Linked DNA regions of Homo sapiens: region 2 is linked to region 1. The links are contacts of gene promoters, found by promoter capture Hi-C in blood cells and fetal thymus (Javierre and others, 2016). All regions are on one chromosome and are shown on one strand. Each heading gives the region's core, a stretch centred on a gene start or on the middle of the fragment in contact. The rest is flanking DNA. Distances are from core to core; before and after follow the strand shown. Region 1 holds the start of CEACAM19 (CEA cell adhesion molecule 19). Region 2 holds the start of NECTIN2 (nectin cell adhesion molecule 2).

The links. Contacts are between HindIII fragments. The CHiCAGO score rates a contact against its expected background, and 5 or more counts as called.
Region 2: a contact is called between the fragment with the promoter of NECTIN2 here and the fragment with the promoter of CEACAM19 in region 1, in 1 of 17 cell types (neutrophils). The highest score is 7.9, in neutrophils.

Annotation. Positions count from the first base shown.
Region 1 is chr19:44,669,680-44,673,133 of GRCh38, reverse strand. CEACAM19 (CEA cell adhesion molecule 19) reads right to left here and starts at 1,652. Exons shown (of 8, transcript NM_001127893.3): 1 at 1,148-1,652; 2 at 170-538. The coding sequence starts at 1,202. The HindIII fragment of the contact is 14,850 bases long and covers 1-3,454 here.
Region 2 is chr19:44,844,660-44,847,813 of GRCh38, reverse strand. NECTIN2 (nectin cell adhesion molecule 2) reads right to left here and starts at 1,517. Exons shown (of 9, transcript NM_001042724.2): 1 at 1,201-1,517. The coding sequence starts at 1,288. RefSeq lists silencers at 1,447-1,546, 1,677-1,756, 1,837-1,886, 2,754-3,153. The HindIII fragment of the contact is 16,272 bases long and covers 1-3,154 here.

The sequences.
Region 1 (3,454 bases), core at 403-2,902:
GTGAGGGTTAAAGACTATCTCTGGGGATTGGTACACAGTAGATGCTCAATATGTGTCAAGTGAATAAATGAGAGGACCAAATGAAATGGTGTTTGCACAGCACCTGGTGCATGGTAGCTGCTCAGGGCTCATTAGCTTCCTCACCTCATCCCCAGACCCTAACACTTACCAGCTACCTGGACCTCAGTCTTGGCCTTCATAGTCCATTCAGAGTTGATGGTAATGGCTACTTGGTAGGTGCCACTGTCTGTAGGCTGGGCGCGGCGCAGCAGCATGGAACCATTGGGGAAGCCCACGATGTCTCGCTGTCCCATGGCACTGCCATCCCTCTGAGGCCGTTGTATCCCAGGGATGTAGGTAAATAGCCTCGTGCCTCCGTACGTCTCCTCCCCCAGGTACCAGTTGAAGTCCTGGAAGGTGTCTGGGACACCCTGGACTGACAGGAGAAGGTCCTGGTTCTTTTGAGGCTGCTCTGGAATCTTCTGGATGTAGAGAGCTGCCTGGGAGCCTTGGAGCATCCAGAGGACCAGGATTGAGGCTGTGGGAAGTTACAGGGAAGGGCTGAGATCAGGGGTGTTGCCAGGGACCATGGCATGCTCCTCTCTAGATACAGATCTTCAGCGGGGAGCAAGGACTCTGAGTGCTGCTCATTGGAAACAATGCTGGGATTGATTAGTGATGTCTGCCCTGGGTGCAGGAGTGGGAACACAGGCATGGTTACCACAGATTTGCCATCCTGTTGATCCAGAGGTTTTTCTACCTTGAGATGCTGTGTGGCCTGCTTCTAAACACATGGACTCTCTGAATTCATTCATTCATTCATTTATTCAACCAATACTTATAGGCATATGTAATATATAAGCTATAATACCAACTATATGTAATACATCTAAACTTCCTTCAATTTCTAGACACTGGAGATATAGCAGGGAACCAAACATACATAAATTCCTGCCTTCATGGTCCTAACATTATAGAAAATTCCATAGATAAAATGGCAATGAGGCTGTGATTCTGTTGCCCCTCCCCCATCTTATTCTAATTTCATCCTCTCAGGTAATCTTTCCCTACTTCTAAGAGGAAACTTCAATCTCTGGGCTGAGTCCCCATTTCTCCCCTTGGCCTTTAGGGTCTATTTCCTCCTTACCTGAGAGCAGGAGGCTCTTTGAGAAGCAGCCCTGGGTCCCCATGGGAATCTCCATCTTGGCGTCTTGTGGAAATGCCAAGGGGCCACGAGCTGGACACTAAGGGGGCCAGAGGGGTGGGCCCTGGCTGTCTGAAGTAGGCCAGCTCAGTGGGGATCCCAGGGGTGCCTTAGAGACACCGCTGGGGCTGGCCCAGCCCCAGCATGCCCTGTCCATGGGCTCTGGAGGCTCCACCTATACTCCCTGGGATGGGAGCACAGACAGAGGTTGAACCAGTTTTTCAGGGTGACTGGGGAACTTCCCAGGACTCCTCCCCTGACCCTCTTCAACCTCTTTTTCTCACTCAGCGTGACTACAACAGCAGTCACTGTAGCAATAGTCATAACAGCCTCTGTTTGAACAATTCCCCTGGGTTTGTTCAAACACACACTGCCTCATTCAGCAGCCACCATAAATAACTGTTCCCATTGCACAGATGTGGAAACAGAGGCCCAGGAAAAGAGGCAAGTCTGCCAATAGACAGAGGTGGGATTTCACCTGTGGCTGACTCACTTGAAGGCTCTGAGGCAGGCTGGGTGCGGTGGCTCACGCCTGTAATCCCAGCATTTTGGGAGGCCAAGGTGGGTAGATCACGAGGTGAGGAATTTGAGACCAGCCTGGCCAACATGGTGAAACCCTGTCTCTACTAAAAATACAAAAGTTAGTCAGGCGTGGTGGTGGGCACCTGTAATCCCAGCAACTGGAGAGGCTGAGGCAGGAGAATCACTTGAACTTGGGAGGCAGGGGTTGCAGGGAGCCGAGATCGCGCCACTGCATTCCAGCCTGGGTGACAGAGCGAGACTTCGTCTCAAAAAAAAAAAAAAGCTCTTAGCCTCGTGTTTTTCTTTTTTTTTCTTTTGAGATGGAGTTTCGCTCTTGTTGCCCAGGCTGGAGTGCAATGGCGCAATCTCAGTTCACCGCAACCTCTGCCACCTGGGTTCAAGCGATCCTCCCACCTCAGGGAGTAGCTGGAAATGCAGGCATGCGCCACCACGCCCGGCTACTTTTGTAGTTTTAGTAGAGACAGGGTTTCTCCATGTTGGTCAGGCTGGTCTTGAACTCCTGACCTCAGGTGATCTGCCCACCTTGGCCTCCCAAAGTGCTGGGATTACAGGTGTGAGCCACCGCGCTCAGCCTGTTTTTTTTTTTTTTTTTTTTTTTTTTTTTTCTTGAGACAGGGTCTTGCTCTGTCTTTCCATTCATGAACATTGGTTGTCTTACCATTTAAATATGTCACCTATAATTGCAAGAATATTTTGTAGTTTTTGGATTGGTTTCTTTTTTAGATGCTGTGTCACCCAGGCTGGAGTACAGTGGCACAATCTCAGTTTACTGCAACCTCCGCCTCCCAGGTTCAAGTGATTCTTCTGCCTCAGCCTTCTGAGTAGCTGGGATTACAGGCATGCGTCACCATGCCTGGCTAATTTTTGTATTTTTAGTAGAGATGGGGTTTTGCCATGTTGGCCAGGCTGGTCTCAAACTCCTGACCTCAGATGATCCTCCTGCCTCGGCCTCCCAAAGTACTAGGAGTATAGGCATGAGCCACTGCACCCAGCCCCAGAGTGTATGTTTTGTACTTTTTTGGATCATGTTTATTCCAAGTGTGTTATTCTTTTTTTTTTTTTTTAAGACAGGGTCTCGCTCTGTTGCCCAGGCTGGAGTATAGTTGCATGATCATTGCTCACTGCAGCCTCCAACTCCTGGGCTCAAGCAATCCTCCCGTCTCAGCCTCCTGAGTAGCTGGGACCACAGTTGTGTGCTACCATCCCTGGTCAATTTTTATATGTTTTGTAGAGATGGGATCTCACTATGTTGCCCCAGGCTGGTGTTGAACTCCTGGGCTCAAGTGATCCTCCCACCTTAGCCTCCCAAAGTACTGGGATTACAGATGTGACTCACCATACCTGGCTTAGCCTAGTTTTTAAAAAGCATCCTCCATTCATTCCAGCACACATTCCCAGTGCCCAGTTGTGTGTGCTGGGTGATGTTGGTGACACAGTGATGATTGAGACCACCTCTGCTCTGCCCTCTGTCCACAGTAGGGCACACAATCCTGTAGGGTTTGGGGGGGCAGACCCCTCTCACACAATTATGATCCAGAGTGATCAGGGCTGGGATGGAGGAGCCCAGGAGTCTGGGAGAGCCCAAGGAGACACACCTCATTCAACCTGACGGCTAGGGAGGGCTTCCTGGGGGAGGGGGCATCTGAGCTGAGACCTGGAGTAAGAGTAGAAATGAGGCAGATGATGGGGTGAGGCAGCATGAGGTGC
Region 2 (3,154 bases), core at 268-2,767, 170 kb before region 1:
ATGGCTCTGAGGACAAAGGCGCTACCAGAGGATAGATAAGGTCCCGAAACCGGGGAGTCCGGAACCCGGAGCCAGGAGCGCCCGCCCCGCCCCTCCCTGGCTCGGCGAGAGTGAAACCAGGAAAACTTCCCCGGCGACGTCTCCGTCGCCCCCGACCATTCATAGGGAAAGGGAGGAGTCTCCCAGCCTCTGGGACTCGGGGCCTCCCGTTCTATCTGGGACTCAGGCGACTGAGACTCCAGCCTCAAGACAGAGCCTTCGACCCTTGATCATATCTGGAGCCCAAGAGACGGGGCCCGCTGCTCGCACTTCTGTTTGGATCTCAGAAGACGTTCCTCTGCCTACAATTAAGTCTGAAGCCCACGAGATCGAGTCTCCTGTCCCCCGGTTCTGCCGGGAACCCTGAAAACGAAGCCCCCTGCCCACAATTAAATCCAGAAGCTACAAGTTTGATCCTCTCTCGCCCCCAGTTTTACCTAGATCCCAGTTAGACTTAGCGCCTAGCCTCCATTCTACCAGGGACCCTGAAGACGGAGCCCCCGGCCCCTAATTTTTCTGGAGTCCACGGAGTCAGAACCCCCAACTCCCTGAGGTTCGGGGTTGGAGCTCCGAGCTCAGGCCCTTCCCCCTAAGTCGCCAGAACTCTTATCCTTAGCCCTCCAAGGGACCCGAATCAGGTCCGCTTGTCCTCAGTTCTCTCCGGGCCTCAGACGCCCAAGCCGGGAAGAAGGAAAAATAGGGGAGGGAGGTGGTCTCGCCTCTTCCTCGAGACCTTACTGCGGTAGGTGGGGGGAACATTCCCCACATTCCTGAGAGGGGTAGAGGAGACAGAGACCCAGATCCGGGTGAACTACTCGGCGCGGGGTGGGGAGGGGGCACCAGGCCTTCCTGGGATTTAACCCTTTCGGCGCGGGAATCCGAGAAATGGGGAGGGGGACAGACAAGCAGGCGTAGGATGGGCAATTGGATTAAGAAGGATGGGGGTGGTGGTGAGAGAGATGCAGAAAGGAGGGGTCAGAGTCTCCTCGAGAGAATCGGACGTGTAGGGGGTCGGAGTCTGTGGGGCCAGCCAGGAAGGGGGCACGCGAGAGGGGGCTCGGGGAGCCGGGGGTGGGCGGGGAAGGTGCTCGGCTTCCCCAGCTCGGAAGGTAAGGTTGGAGGGGGTCCGCGCGAGGGCAGGGGGCCGTCCGCTCGTCTCACCGGTTTCCAGGAGCAGCAGCAGCAGCAGCGGCCACAGCAGCGGCGTCGGCGGCGATCTCGACGGCAGGAGGGCAGCGGCCCGGGCCATGGAGGGCCCGGGAGGGGACTGGGCCCGGCCGGAGGCCCGCGGGCCACTCTGTGGGGGCCGATCGGCTGGGCGGTTTAGTAGGTGCCTGTGGGGCTCCGGCTCCGGCTCCGGGCCGGTTCCCGCTGCGCTCTAGCCTCCCTGTTCTGCTCTCCCGGCCCAGCTCTCCCCGCCCGGCTCGGCACCCCCGGCCTCTCGCTCAGCTCCGGCGGTTCGAACCCGCTGACGTCACAGGATCCACCCGCTGCTCCCCCGAGTCAAGCCGACCCTGGCTCCGGCCCCGCCCCCTCCTGGCGTTCTGACCCCGCCCCCCGGATTCCACCCCTGTTCCTCCCCGGGATTCCATTCTCGCTCCTCCCCAGGATTCTAAGGTCGCCCCTGCCAAAGAATTCTGTCTCCTTCGCTCCCGGCGTTAAACCACGCCCCCTAAGGTCTAGCCACGCCCCCTCTGCTCCCGAGTAGTTCCCACGCCCCGCCCCCTGCCTACCGGCCGCCTCGCCAAGGTCTTGCCACGCCCCTTTCGGCCCTTCCGGCCGACTCCGCCCCCACCAGCCCCGCCTCCACCAGCCCCGCCCCTCGCCCTAGCCGGAGTTCTCTCGGTCTCTTAGCTCAGTCCGTCCTGGCCTCTGTCCCACCCACAGTTCGAATCCTGCCCTTTCCTGCCTGCCCGGGTCCTCTCATCACAGTTGCCTGAGGCACGTGGGGCTTTACGGTTCTGCCCCCAGCACGTCCCGGTTGTGCGACCTCCCCGCAGGTCGAGCCCATCGCCCTGAGCCTGTTTCTCGTACCCTCGTGCGTTTCTAATCTCTGCCCCGAACTCTAGGTGTCGCTGCACTCGTTTCTTTCTGGATTTCTCTGTCTCTCTTACGTGTCTTTGTGTCTCTCTCACTCTCTTTGGGTCTTCCTCTCTGTCCCTGTATTTCTGCCTCTCTGGGTCTTTCCGTCCTCATGCTTCGGTGTCGCTCTGTTTCTGGTCTTCCTTTGTCAGTCACTGTTTCTTTATTTCAATAAAAGAGACGGGGCGGGGGGGCGGCGGGGTCTCACTATGTTGCTGAGGCTGGCCTCAAGCGATCCTCCCGGCTCGGCCTCCCAAGATGCTGGGATTACAGGCGTGAGCCACCAAGCCCGGCCTGTCTGTCACTGTTTCTGGGTCACTTGGTCCCCATGTCTCTTTCCATCCTTTGACTCTGTCTCTGTGTCTCTCTGTCTCTATCTGTGTGCCTCTCTGTCTCTGTCTCTATTTCTGTGTATCTCTGTCTCTATCGGCCTGTCTCTGTGCCTCTCTGTCTCTGTGTGCCTCTCTGTCTCTGTGTTTCTCTGTCTCTATCTCTGTGCCTCTCTATCTCTGTGCTTCTCTGTCTCTGTCTCTCCGTGTGTCTCTCTCTGTCTCTATCTGTGTCTCTCTGTCCCTGTCTCTTTCTCTGTGTCTCCCTCTCGGCGTCTCTTGTCTCTGCGTGCGAGTCTCTCTCGCTGTCTCTCTGTCCCTGCTCTGTTCTCTGCTTCCTTCCCTCCCTACCTCCCTGCGCGCCCTGGTCCTCCCCTCCCAACACCTGCTCCGCGCCGCCTTCTCACCGCAGCCACCCGCCAGGGGGCAGCAGAGACCGGCCCCCGCGCTGCGCTGGCCCGGCCGGGCTGGGTGGGGCTGGGCTCCAGTCCGGCCTCCGGACCTGGTCACTCCCCGCGTCCTTGTCCCACTTCCCCTATCTCCCCAGCCTCCTCGCGTCTTTGTGTCTCTCGCTCAGACTCGGGCCCTTTGTCTCTCCCAGCGGCTCGCCCTCCTCCCTACCCCCACCTACCTCTTCGCATTCTTTGGGCTGCCCAGGGGGAGCTGGTGAGGCCGCGCCGGGGGGCGGGATGAGGGCGCGAAGC